Linked DNA regions of Homo sapiens: all the other regions are linked to region 3. The links are contacts of gene promoters, found by promoter capture Hi-C in human tissues and cell types (Jung and others, 2019). All regions are on one chromosome and are shown on one strand. The core of a region is centred on a gene start or on the middle of the fragment in contact, and the rest is flanking DNA. Distances in the headings are between cores, read along the strand shown. Region 1 overlaps QTGAL (queuosine-tRNA galactosyltransferase). Region 2 holds the start of LOC124904091 (a long non-coding RNA gene). Region 3 holds the start of RAB40B (RAB40B, member RAS oncogene family). Region 4 overlaps LOC101929650 (a long non-coding RNA gene). Region 5 holds the start of UTS2R (urotensin 2 receptor). Region 6 has its middle 13 kb from the start of METRNL. Region 7 overlaps QTGAL (queuosine-tRNA galactosyltransferase).

Region 1 (2,712 bases), core at 193-2,692, 300 kb before region 3:
CACACGCGGACTGCAGAGAGTGGGAGGGCGAGCTCAGGAATCCCACACGCGGACTGCAGAGAGTGGGAGGGTGGGCTCAGGAATCCCACACGCGGACTGCAGAGAGTGGGAGGGCGGGCTCAGGAATCCCACACGCGGACTGCAGAGAGTGGGAGGGCGGGCTCAGGAATCCCACACGCGGACTGCAGAGAGTGGGAGGGCGAGCTCAGGAATCCCACACGCGGAGGGCGGGAGGGCGGGCTCAGGAATCCCACACGCGGACTGCGGAGAGTGGGAGGGCGGGCTCAGGAATCCCACACGCGGACTGCAGAGAGTGGGAGGGCGAGCTCAGGAATCCCACACGCGGAGGGCGGGAGGGCGGGCTCAGGAATCCCACACGCGGACTGCGGAGGGCGGGAGGGCGGGCTCAGGAATCCCACACGCGGAGGGCGGGAGGGCGGGCTCAGGAATCCCACACGCGGACTGCAGAGAGTGGGAGGGCGGGCTCAGGAATCCCACACGCGGAGGGCGGGCTCAGGAATCCCACACGCGGACTGCAGAGAGTGGGAGGGCGAGCTCAGGAATCCCACACGCGGAGGGCGGGAGGGCGGGCTCAGGAATCCCACACGCGGACTGCGGAGAGTGGGAGGGCGGGCTCAGGAATCCCACACGCGGAGGGCGGGAGGGCGGGCTCAGGAATCCCACACGCGGAGGGCGGGAGGGCGGGCTCAGGAATCCCACACGCGGACTGCGGAGAGTGGGAGGGCGGGCTCAGGAATCCCACACGCGGAGGGCGGGAGGGCGGGCTCAGGAATCCCACACGCGGAGGGCGGGCTCAGGAATCCCACACGCGGACTGCAGAGAGTGGGAGGGCGGGCTCAGGAATCCCACAGCTAGTGTTTCAGCGTCTCCGTGTCCCGTGTGCCCCCAGCACGTTCCAAGAGCCAGGCTGCTGCATGCGATGTGGACAACAGGGTGTCCTCGGCAGTGGACTGTGCTTCTGTGAGACTGGACACGGGGCCGCCCGCGGTGCCGCCTCGGGTATGACTGGCTGCCGTCTGAGGGAGGGGACGTGGCCGTTGCCACATGGGTGGCTTGTCCCTGCCATCCTCTGTGGGGCCCTTGGCTGCCCCTGGGGGAGGCAGAGACCATCTTGTGGTCATGTCATGACAGCCCTTCCCTGTACGAGCTAGCGGCCGAGGGCGCGTGTCCTGGTGACTAGGCTGCACACTGTGAGTGAGTTGCTGTGCTTTTCAGTGAAGTTGTGAAAATACTTAAAACGGGAACTCAGGCAGACTGTGGCTACTTTTCTAAGTAACGTGCACCTCGTGCAAACCGGAATGCGGTTCGGCGTTGCCAAGCTGGTTCTGAACTGCAGCAGTCTGGACACATGTTGAGTTTCAGCCCAGCTCCAGACCGCGGTCAGAGCGCTGTCACCGAGAGCGGGTTCCCCGGAGGCCATGGCTGAGCTGCCCCGTGGGGGCAGGCTTTCTCCTGAGTGTTAGCTTTGATGCCCATAGAAGAGTTTTTTATTTTCATGTTTTTTAATTAAAATGAATCAATGTTCTTTTATCAGTTACATACTGTATTCACTTAAAACAATTTTAAAATAGACCTTCATGCCAGTATAGTGTGGGAAATTTAAAAAAAAAAAAAAGGCGCAGTGGCTCACGCCTATAATCCCAGCACTTTGAGAGGCTGAAGCAGGAGGATCACTTGAGCCTGGGGATTTAAGACCAGTCTGCGCAATATAGTGAGACCCTGTCTCTACGAAACATTATCTGGGTGTGGTGGTTCACACCTTTAGTCCCAGTTTCTCGGGAGGCTGAGGTGGGAGGATCACCTGAGCCCAGGAGGTCAAGGCCACCATGAGCCATGATTGTACCACTGCCCTCCAGCCTGGGCAACAGACCCTGTCTCAAAAAAAGAAAAAGAAAAACTTTATTGCATTTGTCAAAAGTTATGCTTCACTGTTTCATAAAGTCAAGCAATATAAAAAATTACAGAGAAAAAACGATGTTACTGCAAACCCACCACTTGTTCCTCTCAGATGTCTCTGTGTGCAGGTCACACACCCAGCACCTAGAGGGGCTCCCGTCCCCCACCCCGCCCGCCCCTCTGCTTTCTGTGACCATAGACTGGTTTACGTTTGCTGGAATTTTACGTAAATGGAGTCCTACACCCTGTGTTGACTTGAAGGATGCCGAAGTGTTCCTTCCTGGGACTTTCTGTTTCATAAAGTTCTGTTTTTCTCCTCCTTGTCCACTTTCTCATCTTCTTCCTTTTTTCTTCACAGTTTCTGGTTTGAATTGAGATCTAAAGAAGGTGCATACATTGCAGTTGTTGATAAATCCCTTTAAATATCCAGATTCCTCCGTCTTCCTTTTCCTTGACTATGTTGTGGACGATGTTGAATGATTTGCCATCGGTGCTTTCAGTAGTCCGACTTCTGCTGATTGCATCTCCCTGGTCTCATTTAACAGATTCCTCTGTCCCTGGAGTTCCTGCAAAGTAGTACTTAGAGCTAGAGGCTTTATGGGATTTACAGTGATTTGTCCATTTGTCTTGTTGATGTATACCTTTGTTGATGTATAGCTTTGTTGATGTATAACTGACATACAGCAAATGGCCCCTATTTCAAATGTACAGTTTGATCGGTTTTGACATGTGTCTGTACCCCAGTGACCCACCACAGTCAACACAGTGAACACATATATCCAACACCCCAAGTTT
Region 2 (2,700 bases), core at 145-2,644, 270 kb after region 3:
GAGGCCGAAGCGGGCAGATCACTTCAGGTCAGGAGTTCGACGAGATCAGTTTGGCCAACATGGCAAAACCCCGTCTCTACTAAGAAGACAAAAATTAGCTGGGTGTGGTGGCGGGCGCTGTAATCCCAGCTACTCGGGAGGCTGAAGCTACTTGGAATGTGGAGTTTGTAGTGAGCTGAGATCACGCCGCTGCACTCCAGCCTGGGTGACAGAGTGAAACTCTGTCTCAAAAAAAAAAAAAAAATTAGCACTTAGGGAGGCAGAGGCGGGAAGATCACCTGAGCCCAGAAGTTTGAGACCAGCCCAGCAACATAGTGAGACCCCACTCTTCACAAAAAGGAAAATGAACAAAAAAAATTAACTCAAAATGGGGCCAGGTGCAATGGCTCATGCCTATAATCCCAGCGCTCCGAGAGGCTGAGGTGGGAGAACTGTTTGAGGCCAGGGGTTCGAGACCAGTCTGGGCAACATAGTGGGACCTGGTATCTGCAAATAATAAAAAAAACTGGCCGGGTATGGTGGCACGCACCTGTGGTCCCTGCTACTCAGGAGGCTGAGGTGCTTGAGCCCAGAAGCTTGAGCCCAGAAGCTCAGGGCTGCAGTGAGCTGTGATTGTACCACGCGCTCCAGCCTGGGTGACAGAGTGAGTCTGTGACTCAAGACAAATAACTTGGATGTTCAAGGGTTCTGGAGAAAGAATAAAAATACCAAACTAAAAATGGATCATAGATCTAAATGAAAAATGCACAGAAGTTAAACTTTAGAAGAAAATACAAGAAAAATCTTTGTGATCTGGTGATCACAAAGAGTTTTTAGAAATGACACCAGAAGCATGTAGCTCTACACTGGGGGAGAATACCTGCAAATTACATACCATCAGAGGACTTGCATCTAGAACATATAAAGAACTTTAAAAACTCAAGTTGAAAAAAAAAATGGGCAAAACACCTGAGCAGTTATTTCTAGTATACCAAGAGGGTATACTGGGCTGGGCACCGTGGCTCACGCCTGTAATCCCAGTACTTTGAGAGGCCGACGCAGGCGGATCGCCTGAGGCCAGGAGTTTGAGACTAGCTTGGCCAACATCTTGAAACCTCATCTCTAATAAAAAGATAAAAAGTTAGCCGGGCATGGTGGGGTACACCTGTAATCTCAGGTGCTCAGGAGGCTGAGGCAGGAGAATCACTTGAACTCGGAAGCAGAGGTTGTAGTGAGCCAAGACTGCACCACTACACTCCAGCCTGGGAAACAGAGTGAGACCCTGTCTCAAAAACAAACACACAAAAAGGGTATACTAATAGTAAATGTACACATGGAGGGTCTTCCTCAGTAAGAAACCAACCCTTCGACACGCTGATTTTGGATGTCTGGTCTCCAGGGCTGAGAGAACATTTCTGTTGTCTTAAGCCACCTGGTTTGTGGCGATCACTTCTGCCCTGACAGCAGTGTCCTTTGAGGAGATGGCGAGTGTGAGTGGTCAGGGCTGTGCTGTGACTTGCTGTGGTGGGGAGAGGGGCACGGAGGGGCAGAGTGGCCCCGGGAGACCCATTAGGAAAGTTTCATGGTGAGTCCATAGTGGTTTAGACAGGGGTGGTGCCTGCATGACAGAGGAAGAGGAGGAGGAGCAGCAGCAGGACCAACATGGGTCAGGGCGTGGCGGGTGGTGGTGCTGACTGTGGCTGGTCTGCTTCTGGTTTGCACACCAGAGGCTGGAGGAGGGCCCTCAATGGAAGCGACCAGCAGGCAGCTGGGGATGAGGGTCTGTAACCCAGGAGGTCTGGAGTTGCTGAGGTGCAGACAGAAGAGGAAGAGGAAGACGAAGAGGAGGACAAAGAGAAAGCAGGAGCAGAAATGGCACCATCTAGAGAGAGAGTGGGAGGTGGGGACAGGGACCGAGAGGAGCCCTGGGGACCGCCAGCTACAGAGAGACAAATGCAAATGGATATCGAGGAGGTGCAGTCAGAGGCAGAGGGAAGCCAGAAAGTGTGGGGCTCAGGAGAGCGGCTGGGGATGCCAGAAGCTACCGAGGGGCCCAGCAGGAAAGGACTAAAACCGTCCCTGGACTTAGTGACCTGGAGGACCCTGGCGGCCTTGGCAGAGACATTCTGTGGATACGTGGCAGGAGGCTAAGAGCGCAGGCCGGGTCCCAGAGCAGAGTACGATGGAGAGAATCAACTAGAAAGGCTGGAGGACCGAGCTGTGGGAAGGAACTCCGGTGGCACGCCCAGAACACCGACATGTGTAAGTGAAAACAACCTTCTTACCCGCGGTGTGTGGAAATAGAAGCCAGAATGGTGTATCTGTTAGAGAAATAAATGGAACCTAAGAGCCATTAAATCGGTGTGGTGGTTAATGCCGCATCACTTCCTGTTTGATGCAGACAGGAAAAAGAATATGTGTATATATATATTTTTTGAGACGGAGTCTTGCTCTGTCACCCAGGCTGGAGTGCAGTGGTGCGATCTTGGCTCATGGCAACCTCTGCCTCCTGCGTTCAAGTGATTCTCCTGCCCCAGCCTCCCGAGCAGCTGGGACTACAGGTGCCCGCCACCATGCCTGGCTAATTTTTGTATTTTTAGTAGAGACGGGGTTTCGCCATGTTGGTCAGGCTGGTCTCGAACTCCTGACCTCAGGTGATCCACCAGCCTCGGCCTCCCAAAGTGCTGGGATTACTACTGGTGTGAGCCACCGCACCTGGCC
Region 3 (2,700 bases), core at 102-2,601:
TGACAAATATAATAATCTTGACTTCAGTCTCTTTTGTAATTCTTCTTCCGCTCCCTCTTCTGTTCCTCCCCCACAAAAAACTTCTAATGGGGTCTAGAGCAGTTCCCTACACAACGCAGGGTGGAGGGGATGAAGTAGTGGGGGCATTATCCTTCTTCTTGGACGGAGCTCGCCCTTTGCCTGCTGCCTGAATTCTGCACCAAATAAACCAATGTGCACCTGGTGAGACCCTCAGAGCGAAGGGCAGACCTCGGCCTGGCAACCCTTGCTCTCTAGAGCAGAGGAGAAGCCAAAAGGCTGGAGGGTCCCACCCAATGCTCTCCTCCAGCACGCACGCAAACACATGCATGGATGCACAAACAAGCGCACGCACACATAGGAGCGCATGCATAGAAGCAGCACACGCAGACACACACATGCAAAGATGCCTGCAAAGGCACACATGCACACGCACATACATGTGCAGACACCTGCAGAGGCACACATGCACACGCAGACACACAGATGTGCAGACATCTGCAGAGGGACACATGCACACGCACATACATGTGCAGACACCTGCAGAGGGACACATGCACACGCAGACACATAGATGTGCAGACACCTGCAGAGGGACACATGCACACGCAGACACATACATGTGCAGATATCTGCAGAGGCACACATGCACACGCAGACATGCACACACACGAACACATGCACACGTACACAGGCGCATGTGCACACACAGGCATTCAGGCACGCCGCGTAAATGGGGCAACGACGAGGCCCTGGATGAACCGTGGGGAGAGACCGCGAGCCTGGATTCTACGGCGACAGGGACTCCTCCGGCGAGGCGGCCTGCGGGGGCCTTCCGGCCGCGTCCGCCAACTGGACCGACCCCGAGCCCCACCCGGCCAGGCACCCGAGGTCTCCCTGGTGGGCAGGTGGGGAGGCCCCACGCTGGGACCCTGCACCGCCCCTCGCCCCTCCCGACTCGGGGCGTGCAGACCCGACGACCGTGGGAGCGAGTTCGTGGCGCTCACGGGCGCACGCGAGAGTGTAAACACCCGGCCCCACCCCCTGATCGCCCCCACCCCGCCCCGCCATTGGCTGCGGGAGCAGAGTCCCCGCCTCCTGCTTGTTCTGGCTCCGCCCCTGCCCCGTCTCCGGGCCTCCATTGGCTGTGGTGACAGCGACCTTTCAGGAGGGGCGGGTGGGCGACAGCCCGGAGGCGGTGACGAGAGTAAGATGGACGGACAACCAAGCCAGTGAAAGCGCGCAGCTGCCCTAGCAACTGCGGTCCACCAATGGCGGGGCCGGGCGGGGATGCGCGCTGTCAGCGCTGGGCGGCGGGGCGGGGCCGGAGGCGAGCAAGGACTCGGGGCCCGCGCGGCGCCTCTCGGGGCCGGGCCGCCGCCTCTGCGCTCAGCCCCGCAGGCCGGGCATGGGTGGGGGCGCCGGGCCGTCACGATGAGCGCCCTGGGCAGCCCGGTCCGGGCCTACGACTTTCTGCTCAAGTTCCTGCTGGTGGGCGACAGCGACGTGGGCAAGGGCGAGATCCTGGCGAGCCTGCAGGATGGCGCGGCCGAGTCCCCGTACGGCCACCCGGCGGGTGAGCGCGGGCGGAGGGCGTGCCGGGGTGCGGGCGCGGGGCCGGGGAGGGGCGCGGGGCTGGGGAGGGGGTGCGGGTGGGGGTCCGGGTCCGGGGACGCGAGACCGGGCAGGGGTCGGGAAGAGGCCGGGGCGCGTGGCCGGGGAGGGTAGGAGTCCCGGTCCGGGGGCGCGGGGCTGAGGAGGAGCGCGGTTCGCGGGCGGGCCTTTCTCCGCCCGGCCCTGGCCCTCGTGCTGCGGCGTCCCTGTTGCACCCCCAGTTCCACTCGAGGCCCCGCGGCGCAGTCTCCATCCTTCTCCGCAGTCTGCGCGCAGCGGGAGCCCGCGGCTGGGCCGGGCGCTGGGCTCCTCCCGACCTGGGGCCGCTGCTGTGGGGACCCGGGGCGGGGGCTCGAGTCCGCAAGTGCGCGTTCGGCCGCGGGGCAGGAGGGGCGGGAGGGGACGCGAGCTCCGGGGCTCCTGGGGCGGAGCGCGGCGAGCAGGCGCCCAGGTGCTGGGTCTGCGCGTGGGTCGGAGGGGAGGGGAGACCAGGGTCCGGTCCCGAGGCCAGGGGTCCCGCGTGTCCGGGGGAGAGGAAGGAGCACAGGTGACTCGCGTGCGGAAGAGGGGACCCCCCACGACAGCGGCCGGAGAGCGGGTTCCAGGGCGAGGGGAGGCCGGAGCGCCCAGAGCTCCCAGGCAGGCAGCCCGGGGATCCCCCAAGTTTGAGGCTTGAAAGCCGGCGCCCGGCGAGGGGGTGGACGGCTCCGGGGAAAGAAAGGCGGGGGCAGGAACCCAGGAGAAGGGGGAACGCGCAGAGGCGAACACCTCGGCTGGGAGTGAGGAGCAGGCGGGGCCTTCACCCACGCGCATCCCTGGAACAGCTTGGACGAGGCCGACCCTGAGGCTGTGGAAGGAGCCCAGCCTGTGCCCACCTTCCTGCCGCGCCTCGGGGCTGAACCCACGCTTCCAACAGAGACCCGCTCTGAGTCCTGGGCGGAGGAGGGCAGCCGGGCGTGGAGATGGAGTCTTGGTGGGAAGGACCTGTCAGCTCTGGGGCCTGGGAAGGGTCTGGGAAGCCCCAGGTCCAGGGTCCTGCCAGAGACGAACTTAGCGGGAGAGGGTGGG
Region 4 (2,700 bases), core at 42-2,541, 480 kb before region 3:
GAAGGAAATACGCTGAGGGAAAGGGGGTATGAGGCTGGCGCAGACAATAAACAGAGGTGTGCCAACCGGGAAACACAACACACAGGGAGGCTGCAGTCATCACCCGCAGACACCAACATCCCTGCCCTGAACTAACCTTCCCCGCGTCTCGATTCTCTGCCAACAGCGTTTTTACTTCAAACCAGCAGAGCCAGGTCACCCGCATCAGGAAGGGCAGAAGGTCATCCAGCCTGGACCTGGGGCCCTTCACCCCCACTCCTGTGAGGAGGCCTTCTGTGGCCTCAGCCCCCAGGGCCCTGCCAAGAACCTGCCATCCTGGACATTTGCTCAGCCTGCCTGGGAAACAGAGCTCATCCTGCGTGGCCAGCAACAGAGAAGCTGGGATTTGGAGCTAGATCAGGTCTAAATCTTGGCTCTGCCACTTCCTGTGTGGCCCTGGACTTCCCTGAGTCTCGATATACATGTATGTGAACCCGAAACACAACCACTGCAATCTTGAGGTGTTGTGGAGTGGTTGAGAGGTGTGCACATTCTCTAAAAGACCACTTGAGCAATAGCTGGTTCTTTGAAAGTCTTGCTGGGACAACAGAGGAAGAGCAGGGGAAGGAGGGGGCTGACGACGAGGACGATGACAGGATTATAAGGAACCAAGACCGCTGCCGGCAAACCCCCTGCTCCATAAATGTGCAAGGCAGCACGGGTAGGAAGCGTCACACACAACCCCGGCCAGAGCCAGGCGACACGCCGAGAAACCCTAACACGACAGTGGCATTGTCGGAAACTGATTTACTTTGTTCAAAAAAAATGCGATAATCTTGGAAAACTAGCAAAATCCCAAGTGTGACTTGAAGACAAAGCACAGGCACTCCAGGGATCAAACCAAGAAGAAACACGGTGAGGGGTTTACATTCTGGAATGCATTGGAAGCAGCCCAGTTTCATCACCTCCGATGGCCAACGGCGGCACAGATGGTCTGCGTGAAGAAACACGAGCCCTGCTGTCTCGGGCGTCGGTGCCTTTGTGGCAGCACTGGCATCTCTCTTTCCTCAAAGTTTAAATTCTGTTTTGATGTCAGCAACACGTCAACACTCATATTCTAGGGAGCAAATTTCTCCTTCTGCTCCTTATGGCTAATGCAAAAGTAAACGCCAATTTACTTTTGTCTAAATTATTGAAAATTCAAGTGGAATCACATAGGATTCAGATAAATAGGATTTTCCTGTTTTTGCTGTCGTCTTCTTAAAATGGCACATAAGCTTCCCTCCCCCTCCACTCACCCCGTGACTTCCTTCTGGTCCACACCCTCCCTCAGGGCCCAGCATCTTCTCAGAGGGTGTAGAAACTCGAACTTTCACAAAACACAGAGGCCAGCCCGGCCCTGTCCTGAGCCGGTCTCATTATTTCCTGTCTGCGGACAGGCCCAGACCTCAAGGAGACTACACACTGTGAGACTGTCTTTGCCACAGGCTACCCTGGCCCAAGGTGGAGGAGCAAAGCCACCCCACAGGCCTCCCAGACATACCCCAACCGCAGCTGGAGGTGAGCGTCTCTCTGCCTGGACCTGCTGTGCTCATCAAATCGACGGCAGCCTGCACGGACCACAGGGGCTTGTGAGTTCCTGACGCTGCCCCGCCAGTTACTTTAGCCAGGGCGTTTGCCCTCCTGTGGAAGTTCAATGTCTTCATGTAAAACAAAGGCAATTGATACCTCCAGGGCCCTGGCACTCCAGCTGTCTGTCTCTGGTGACTGGACCTTCTCTGGATAGCTGCACAGGACCTGGTTCTCCGGGCCATCTGGGACCCTCTGTGCTAGGCCCTAACTTCCAGAAGGCTCAGTCACACTTATTCCCCTTCTCACACACGAGCAGTGAGTCTGTGTGCACGTGGGAGAGCTCCGCTGGGTCCTGGTGCTAAGCTCTCTGGTGGGTGCTGCAAGGTTGTCCGAGCTCTCCAGGTCGCCCCTCCAAGGTGGCTGACAAACATAAGTTCTGTCCCAACCATGGCTCCTGAGTGCCTGTTGTCTACCCCTCACCCATCCCAGCAAACAGCAGCCACTCAGCAAGCCCTTCCTGGAGGGATCCACATCCTGAAATGGCCCCCCAGTGTGGGAAAAGCCCAGAGCGCCACGCTGACACCCGGAGCCCAGGGCCGACAGTGGCAGCTTCTGCTGGGGGTCATGTGGGTCAGGGCACTGCTCCCCACCCTCAGGTGATGCCCGAATGCCCTCCAGGAATGACACAGAGGTGGCATCTGGGTGGTGGACATACACCCCCAGGTGTGGAATACAGGCCCATCCCCGCTGTACCCCCCGGGTGTGGAAAGCCAGGCCCATCCCCCCTGCACCCCCCCAGGCGTGGAAAGCCAGGCCCATCCCCCCTGCACCCCCCAGGCGTGGAAAGCCAGGCCCATCCCCCCTGCACCCCCCAGGCGTGGAAAGCCAGGCCCATCCCCCCTGCACCCCCCAGGCGTGGAAAGCCAGGCCCATCCCCCCTGCACCCCCCAGGCGTGGAAAGCCAGGCCCATCCCCCCTGCACCCCCCAGGCGTGGAAAGCCAGGCCCATCCCCCCTGCACCCCCCAGGCGTGGAAAGCCAGGCCCATCCCCCCTGCACCCCCCAGGCGTGGAAAGCCAGGCCCATCCCCCCTGCACCCCCCAGGCGTGGAAAGCCAGGCCCATCCCCCCTGCACCCCCCAGGCGTGGAA
Region 5 (2,700 bases), core at 162-2,661, 330 kb after region 3:
TCAGAGAAAAAAAAAAAGAAGAAACATAGACAAAAAGCTGGTAAGAAAAATATAGGGAAGAACTGCAAATTAGTAAGGAAAAGACAAACAACCCATTTGAAAAAAAGAGACCAAAACCGTGACCGGGGACTTCCTGAAAAGGACACCCACGCAGCCAACAAGCAGGGAAATGCCAGTCAGGGCCACAGGAGCCCCTGCGTGCTGACAAGGATGAACGCGTGAAAAGGCAGATATCCTTGTCAACAGGCGTGGGGGCTGTGGAGGAGCTGGCCCTGCCGTTTCCTGTTGCTGGGAACCTGGACTGTGCCGCCGCTTTGGAAAGCCATTGGCACGATTTGCAGAGTTGACCGCCTATACCTTCTCACCCGGCAATTCTACTCTCAGGTTAGTACCTTAGATAAAGGGCTGCCAACGTTCAGAAAATGACAAGCGTGCGAAAGTTCACGGCAGCTTGACTCCTAAGAAGCTGGAAACAGCTCAAATGTCCCCAGTGGACGGGGCAGGCAAACTGTGACATGAAGCCAGTGAAGGAGTCGCCGCTGGGGTCAGCAGCCTGGATGAAACAGCGCGGTGGTGGGCTGAAGAAACAAGACACAGGAGGCTGCCTGATTCCACGAGCCACGCTGAATTTAGGCCGAACACTCATGGCTGCGCAGGGAGCAGTCTTGGCTGGGGTGGGGAGTTGTCAACAGGTGGGGGCGCTGGGGGCCTTCCAGGGCCTGGAAATGTGCCCTGTCCGCCCTTTCCCACCAGGCCGAGCAGCTCCCAGCTCCATCTGTCCAGGGGACCCTCACCCCCTTGCTGCCCCCACCCAGGGCATTTCCAGAGCCCTCACCCAGGGGACGGCGCAGAAGCCGAGGGTGCACCGGGCTCCCCAGTTGTGCGCGAGCCCGAGTCACGGGCAGGGGGACAGCGGCCGCCGGGCCGCTAGGATTGCTCCAGGGTCGCTAGGGGGGAAGGGGAGGGGCCGAAAGTTCCACGGCACGGGAGAAGCCGCCTCGCTGGACCCCGCTCCCCTCGCCCAGGGTGGGTTCCCACCGCGAAACCCCGGCCCAGCCCTGCGGAGGGCCCCGAAGGGCACAGACCCGGCAGTCCCCGCGCGCTCCCGGTCACCCACCGAGGACCCACCTGCCTCCGGTCACTGAGCGGCCAGACCTGCCCGCCGAGCCTGGGGTCGCGCGTGGGGGCAGCCGCTCGCGGCTCCAAACTCCTCGCGCAGCGGGGCCGCGGGGAACTTTCCGAGGCGCGCTCCCCTGTCCCAGCGCAGAGGGGGCGCGAGGGGCTCCGCGGTGGCCTCGGCTTCCAGAGCACACGGCAGGGGCGCCCGCCAGTCCCGCCACCAAAGCCGCGCCCCCCGCCCCGCGCCGGGTCTCTGCGCCGCCGCCACCTGCCCGCCGCCAGCTGGGAATGCGCCGCGCCCCGCGCCAGGGCCCGGTATTAAAATAACCCCAGCGGGCAGCAGGCGCGCGGAGGGGACGGCGCCGGGTGTCTAGGGGGCGGCGCTGACCGCGCGGCGCCGGGAAGACGCGGGGGTCGCGGGGCCGCAGCGGGGTCGGCGGAGGGTCCCAGGCGGGTCTCGCGTCTGCGTCTGCGGAGCGAAGCTGCCTCCAGCCCGGCTGCCCCAAGGCTGACCCCGCAGCCCCTCTTGGGTTCTCCGCCTCCAGCGTTCACCCCTGCGCCCCTCACGCCCGTGTTTGCAGGGCACGGAGCCTGGGATTCTCCGTGTCCACCAAGCCCTGGACCCGCCCGCGCGCAGGTGGGGGGCAGGAACACCCCTAAACCCCGAGAGGGTCATAGAAAGGAGGTAAGGGAGGGAGGGAGTCACCCGCCCAGGCGGGGACGGGCTCTTTGGGGGCCTTGACCCCGCCCCTGTTGCGGGTCTCCCACAGATGCTCTTAGAAGCCCACGCAGCCTCTCCAGGCCTCGGCAGGGACTCGTGGTGGCCACATCCACGGAAGTGACGCTGGGAGCTGCAGGGCCCCGCGGGGTAGGAGGAAGGACCCCACAGCCTCACCCTCGAGCCCCTGAGCTGGGTGCTGGCCCCCACTCGGTTTCACTTGCTGCTCGGAGGTAGGATGTGGGCCTTCACTCATGCTGAACCCCTGAAAGAAAAAGACACAGAACATTAATAAATTAGACTAGAGGAGAGCTGGAGAGCTGTGAACACGGGGTCTAAAGGGCCCCCAGCGAGGAGCTGGCCTCGCCCACTCCACTCCGCCCGGGGCTCATCTGCTGCCTGAGGCCGCGGACCGGCCCCTAAAGCTGAAGGGGTTCTGCTGGGGGAGAGGAGGTGGCCAAGTGTGAATGGCCGAGAGGCTCCTGCAATCAGCTGGATCCGGGGGAGCCCCAGATGCCCACCAGTCCCCTCCGTGGGACGTTTGCCACGTGCTGGGGAGGCGAGGCTGGGCTGGAGAGGGCGGGAAAAGTCCCTCTGGTCTCCGAGCGTCCGCTGGACGGAGCAAGGGTCACACAATAAGACAGTTCATTCTCTGTGAGCTGAAAACAGCCGAACTGAAACCAAATACAGCTGCAGCTTCCGACCCGAAAGGGGAGCAGCTCATCCTGCCTGTGCGCGGGAGGAAAGGGGGTGGAAGGCTGCCTCCGACGTGATGGTTCTGTGAGAGCTGATTACTAAGCTGGAGTCTAGGGGCTAGGGCTGGGGAAAAGCACTCAGGACCCAGAATGCCTGCTCCAAGAATT
Region 6 (2,700 bases), core at 191-2,690, 370 kb before region 3:
CTGTCGCCTCCCGGGACCCCCGCTGCCGCCCCCCGCTGTCGCCTCCCGGGACCCCCGCTGTCGCCCCCGCTGTCGCCTCCTGCAGGTGGGATTTCGGGAGGTTCTTGGGTCATTCTCATCCCCGTGGAGGCTCAGGCTTCATTCCTTTAGCGAAACCTCATGTGTTTCCCGCACTTCCAAAAACGTCCAGCTGGAAGCCCTGAACTTCAGAAAGCAAAAGCAACTGAGTTTTCCCTGCACAGCCTGTGGCTCTCCCGGCCGGAAAGCACTTGTGTCACCCAAATGCCTGGGTCCTGGGCTGACCGTCCTAGTCTTTTGGAATCTAAGCTGAGCTGACTTAACCTAAATCCCTCCTTCCCAGAAGGGCTAAAGTGATCCTTTTCGTAGCTCCGCTAAGAGGCCTTTATCTGTGGCCCGGCTCATCCCAGAGGGGACGGGAGGGGTTGAGGTGAATGCCTGCAGGGTAACAAGATAAAGCACAGTGTAAGATGAGTGTGACACAAGGGGACAGGTCAGGCCCGGTCAGTGTGACACGAGGGGACAGGTCAGGCCCGGTCAGTGTTGCCACAGGGGCCACGAGGGGGGGCTTCAGGTGGGTTCCCCAGGACCCCCAGGACTCCGCACCTAGGCCAGAGCTCCGGACGGCCAGCAAAGCCAGCGAGACCTGATGCCTCAGGGCCTGCAGTGTCCAGTGCATGGAAATGGCCTTGGGAGGAGAGGCGGGTCCCGAGAGAACCCCAGGCTCTCCCCCAGGCGCAGGCACCCACACCACCTGGGCAGGCGAGGCCGAGCCTCCCCCCGCAGTTCCTCAGGACCTTCCTCTTGCCAACAGGAGCCCAGCGTGGAATCCCGCAAAGGAAACAGACAATGGGTCCGTGTCCACACCATGGCCACCAGAGCGCAGGTGTCACCTCCCCTTGAAACCCACAGCTGGTATCTTCACCATCGCCTCCTTCACAGGCAGAAAACAGACGCGGAGAGGCCAGCTCTCTCCCGGAGGCCGCGCGGCAGACAGGGGGCCGGATCCTACCCAGCGGGTCTCTCGGGTCCCTAGGGGGTAGTCCCCAGGCACCCAGACCTGCCTTGAGAAGAGTGTCTGTCTTGCCACAGCCTTCCCTGAGAGGCCCTGCGTGGCCCCAGGTAAGAACATGCACCGTCCCTCCAGGACTCAGGGTGAGGGTGCAGAGGGCGGGCAGCCGTGCCCAGGGTGAAGCCGTGGCCCCGGGTGAGAACACGCACTGTCCCTCCAGGACTCAGGGTGAGGGTGCAGAGGGCGGGCAGCCGTGCCCAGGGTGAAGCTGTGGCCCCGGGTGAGAACACGCACTGTCCCTCCAGGACGCACAGTGAGTGTGCAGGGGGCGGGCAGCCGTGCCCAGGGTGAAGCCGTGGCCCCGGGTGAGAACACGCACTGTCCCTCCAGGACTCAGGGTGAGGGTGCAGAGGGCGGGCAGCCGTGCCCAGGGTGAAGCCGTGGCCCCGGGTGAGAACACGCACTGTCCCTCCAGGACGCACAGTGAGTGTGCAGGGGGCGGGCAGCCGCGCCCATGGTGAAGCCCGGTGAGGCAGCCTGAGGCTGAGAAACACAGTTTCTTATGACAAAAGAAATTCACTTTCATGACAGAAAATGCGGATGAACACAGAGAACGACGTAAGAGTATCCTGAAACCTGCAGGAGGTAACAGCAGGGGTGGCATTTGGGGTGTCCTCCAGGGCGCAGGACTCTTGAGGGGATGGCTGGCTCGGACCCGGGGTGCTCCTCCAGCCGGACACGGGCCCAGGAAGCCCGCACTGTGGGGCTGAGTGGAAACTGCATCTGCGTGGCGGGCACGGCACGGTGTCTGCGATCTGGAGCTCTTCAGGGAAGGCCAGCCTGCGGCGGCGATGACGATGACAGATGGCGAGGGTCCGAGAGCCTCGTTACCCCACAGTGACCCGAGACGTTCGGGACCAGGAAACTTCCCGAAGGTCGGCCAACCCGAAAGTGGCCAGGGCCTCCAGGCACCAGGTAACAGAATAAGAAATATACATTTGGCCTCTGCCCTGGTTCCCCACACCAGCTCCGAAATCGCTTGGTATTTCCTGGGTGCTAGGAGCGTTTTTTTGTTCAAGGAGGTGACTCTTGGGGGCCCCTAGACAGCTTCAGGATGGGGTACGCTCACCGGGAAGACCAAACATCAATTAGAAGCTTGGAACTTTCAGTCCCACCGGCCTCCAGGGAGGGGAGAAGGGCTGAGATTGAATAACGATCCATTGGTCATGCCTGCCGGCTTCCATTAAACCCTTTAACAGATAGAATCCGGGAGCTTCTGGACTGGGGAACGCATGGGAGTGTGGGGGGTGGACAGAAACTCCTGCACTTGGGTCCTTCCTGGACCCCGCCCTGTGCACCTTGTTATCTGGTTGTCCATCTGTATCCTTTATTACATCTTTTATAGTGAATCAGTGAACGTAAATGAGTTTTTCCCTGAGTCCTGTGAGACTTAGAGCAAATTATCAAGCCTGGGGAGGAGTCGTGGCAACCCCCAACTTTGTAGCCAAGTCAGACGGAGGCGTGTGAACCCTGGGCACCCGATACTTGGGACGGTCGCCTGCAGAGGGGCAGCTTGTGGGACGGAGCCCCAGCCTGCGGGGTCTGCGCTACCTGCAGGTAGTGTGAGAGTCGAACTGAATCGTGGGACACCCCGTTGGTGTCCACTGAGA
Region 7 (2,700 bases), core at 201-2,700, 350 kb before region 3:
TGTATGAACGTTCCAATTTCTACATATCCTCATCAACACTTGTTATTTTCTGTTTTTTAAATTATAGCCATGCTAGTGGGTGTGAAGTGGTGTCTCACTGTGGTTTCCATTTGAATGTCCTTGTTGACTAAAGATGTTGTGCCTCTTTTCGTGTGCTTGTTGGCCATTTATATATCTTCCTTGGGCCAGGCATGGTGACTCACGCCTCTAATCCCGGCACTTCGGGAGGCCGAGACGGGTGGACCACCTGAGGTCAGGAGTTTGAGACCAGCCTGGCCAACATGGTGAAACCCCATCTCTACTAAAAATACCACAAAAAAAAATTAGCCAGGTGTGGTGGCATGCACCTGTAATCTCAGCCACTTGGGAGGCTGAGGCAGGAGAATCGCTTGAACCCGGGAGGCAGAGGTTGCAGTGAGCCGAGATGGTGCCACTGTACTTCAGCCTGGGTGACAGAGTGAGACTCCATCTCAAAATAAATAATAAAAAATAAATGGGCCGGGTTTGGTGGGTCATGCCTGTTATCCCAGCACTTTGGGAGGCCAAGGCGGGTGGATCACCAGAGGTCAGGAGTTCAAGACCAAGCTGCCCAACATGGTGAAACCCCGTCTCTACTAAAAATACAAAAATTAGCTTGGAGTAGTGGCAGCGGCCTTTAATCCCAGCTACTCAGGAGGCTGAGACAGAAGAATTGCTTGAACCCGGGAGGCAGAGATCGCGATCTCTGCTGTGAGCCGAGATCGTACCATTGGACTCCAGCCTGGCAACAAGAGCAAAACTCCGTCTCAAAAAATAATAAATAAATAAATAAATGTATATCTTCCTTGAAGAAATGTTTATTCAAGTATTTTGGCCATTTTAAAAATTGAGCTGTATGTGTTTTCATTGTTGAATTGTAAGAGCTCCTTATATGTTCTGGACACTAGAGCTTTATTATATATAATTTGCAATTTTTTTCCCGTTCTTTGGGTTATCTTTTCACCCTCTCGAGAGTGTCCCTTGATGCACAAAAGGCTTATGATTTTGATGAAGACAAAAATCTAATTTATCTATTATTTCTTTTGTGGCGTGTGCTTTTGGTGTCATTTCTAAGAAGCCACGGCTAAATCAAGGTCACGAAGATTTTATCTGTATGTTTTCTTCAGAATTATACTTGTAGCTCTTATATTTAGGCCTTTGATCTATTTTGACTTAATTTTTATGTATGGTGTGAAGCAAAGGTCCAGCTTCATTCTTTTGTAAGTAGATACTCAGTTTTTCCAACACCATTTAAAAGACTATTCTTTCTCCACTGAATTGTCTTGGTATTCTTGTCAAAAATCCATTAACCATAAACGTATGGATTCATTCCTGGACTCCAGATTCTATTCCGTTGGTCTATATGTCTGTCCTTACGCCAGTACCTCATTGTTTTGATTACTTGAGCTTTGTGATAAGTTTTGTGAATTGTTTTCTTAATTTTCTTTGAGAGTGCTCATTTCTAGGGGATAAACAACAGATTTCTCTTAGTGTTGACCTTGTATCCTACAATTATTAGCTCTAATAGTTTATTAGCTTTAATAGTTTGTTCTTTGTGGGTTTTTAGGATTTCCTGTATTTAAGATCATATTATCTATGAGTAGAGATAGTTTTGCTTCTCCTTTTACAATTTAGATTCTTTCTTTTTTTTTTTTTGAGACAGAGTCTCACTGTGTCATCCAGGCTGGAGTGCAGTGGCACGATCTCAGCTCACTGCAAGCTCCGCCACCTGGGTTCAAGCAATTCTCATGTCTCAGCCTCCCGAGCAGCTGGGTCTACAGGCGTGCGCCACCACAACCAGCTAATTTTTTTGTATTTCTAGTAGAGACGGGGTTTCGCCATGTTGGCCAGGCTGGTCTCAAACTCCTGACCTCAGGTGATCCGCCTGCCTTGGCCTCCCAAAATGCTGGGATGACAGGCGTGAGCCGCCGCGCCTGGCTTTTATCTTTCTTCATCGCTCTGGTTGGTGCTTCCAGGACGGTGCCGAATAGAAGTGGTGAAAGTGGGCATCCTCGCTTCGGTTCTCCCAAGCAATTGTAGGGGAAAAGCTTTCAGTCTTTCACCTTTGAATATGACGTTAGCTGTAGGTTTTTATAAATGCCATTTCTTACGCTAAGGAGGTTTCCTTTTAATTCTAGTCTGTTGAATTTTTAAATCATGAAAGGGTGCCGGATTTTGTCAAATGCCTTTTTGACACCAATTTGAGATGATCATATAGTTTTTTCCCCTTTATCTGTTAAGATGGTATGTTACGTTGATTGATATCCTATGTTGAACTGCCCTCACATTATTGGGATAAATCCCACTTGTTCCTGGTGTAAAATCTTTCTAGTATACTGCTGGATTCAGTTTGCTAGTATGTTGTTGAAGATTTTTGCATATATATATTTGTAAGGGCTATTGGCCTGTAGGTTCCTATTCATATGATATCTTTGTGTGGCTTCGGTATCAGAGTAATACTGGCCTCATAGAATAAGTGTTTCTTCCTCTTGTTTTTTGGAAGAGTTTGGGAAGGATTGGTGTTAGTAATTCTCTGAGTTTGGTGGAATTCATCAGTGAGGTCACCTGACTCTGGGCTTTTTTGTTGGGAGTTTTTGTTTTTTTTATTACTGAGTCAATCTCTTTATTTGTTATAGGTGTGTTGAGATTTTTTTTATTTCTTCTTGAGTCAATTTTGGTAGT

Evidence for each region. Contacts are between HindIII fragments. The study calls those that stand out against the background at their distance.
Region 1: a contact is called between a fragment that was not itself captured here and the fragment with the promoter of RAB40B in region 3, in 2 of the 25 tissues and cell types used here (lymphoblastoid cells and spleen).
Region 2: a fragment that was not itself captured here is called in contact with the fragment with the promoter of RAB40B in region 3 in 1 of the 25 tissues and cell types used here (dorsolateral prefrontal cortex).
Region 4: a contact is called between a fragment that was not itself captured here and the fragment with the promoter of RAB40B in region 3, in 3 of the 25 tissues and cell types used here (dorsolateral prefrontal cortex, lymphoblastoid cells and spleen).
Region 5: a contact is called between the fragment with the promoter of UTS2R here and the fragment with the promoter of RAB40B in region 3, in 2 of the 25 tissues and cell types used here (bladder and dorsolateral prefrontal cortex).
Region 6: a fragment that was not itself captured here is called in contact with the fragment with the promoter of RAB40B in region 3 in 1 of the 25 tissues and cell types used here (lymphoblastoid cells).
Region 7: a contact is called between a fragment that was not itself captured here and the fragment with the promoter of RAB40B in region 3, in 1 of the 25 tissues and cell types used here (lymphoblastoid cells).

The regions. Positions count from the first base shown.
Region 1 is chr17:83,000,981-83,003,692 of GRCh38, reverse strand. The region is part of intron 6 of QTGAL (queuosine-tRNA galactosyltransferase); the gene reads left to right. Among named protein-coding and RNA genes, the nearest start is that of QTGAL, 49 kb to the left of the region's middle. The HindIII fragment of the contact is 7,803 bases long and covers 1-2,712 here.
Region 2 is chr17:82,428,975-82,431,674 of GRCh38, reverse strand. The region is part of intron 4 of HEXD (hexosaminidase D); the gene reads right to left. LOC124904091 (a long non-coding RNA gene) reads left to right here and starts at 1,263. Exons shown (of 3, transcript XR_007065958.1): 1 at 1,263-2,241. The HindIII fragment of the contact is 5,064 bases long and covers 1-2,700 here.
Region 3 is chr17:82,697,349-82,700,048 of GRCh38, reverse strand. RAB40B (RAB40B, member RAS oncogene family) reads left to right here and starts at 1,351. Exons shown (of 6, transcript NM_006822.3): 1 at 1,351-1,594. The coding sequence starts at 1,453. RefSeq lists silencers at 783-1,172, 1,193-1,622. The HindIII fragment of the contact is 28,650 bases long and covers 1-2,700 here.
Region 4 is chr17:83,181,606-83,184,305 of GRCh38, reverse strand. The region is part of intron 2 of LOC101929650 (a long non-coding RNA gene); the gene reads right to left. Among named protein-coding and RNA genes, the nearest start is that of METRNL, 100 kb to the right of the region's middle. The HindIII fragment of the contact is 3,242 bases long and covers 1-2,700 here.
Region 5 is chr17:82,370,476-82,373,175 of GRCh38, reverse strand. It overlaps UTS2R (urotensin 2 receptor), which reads right to left and starts at 1,411. Exons shown (of 3, transcript NM_018949.3): 1 at 1,129-1,411; 2 at 393-578. The HindIII fragment of the contact is 34,629 bases long and covers 1-2,700 here.
Region 6 is chr17:83,065,525-83,068,224 of GRCh38, reverse strand. No RefSeq gene overlaps it. Among named protein-coding and RNA genes, the nearest start is that of METRNL, 13 kb to the left of the region's middle. The HindIII fragment of the contact is 5,163 bases long and covers 1-2,700 here.
Region 7 is chr17:83,043,920-83,046,619 of GRCh38, reverse strand. The region is part of intron 3 of QTGAL (queuosine-tRNA galactosyltransferase); the gene reads left to right. Among named protein-coding and RNA genes, the nearest start is that of QTGAL, 6.5 kb to the left of the region's middle. The HindIII fragment of the contact is 5,650 bases long and covers 1-2,700 here.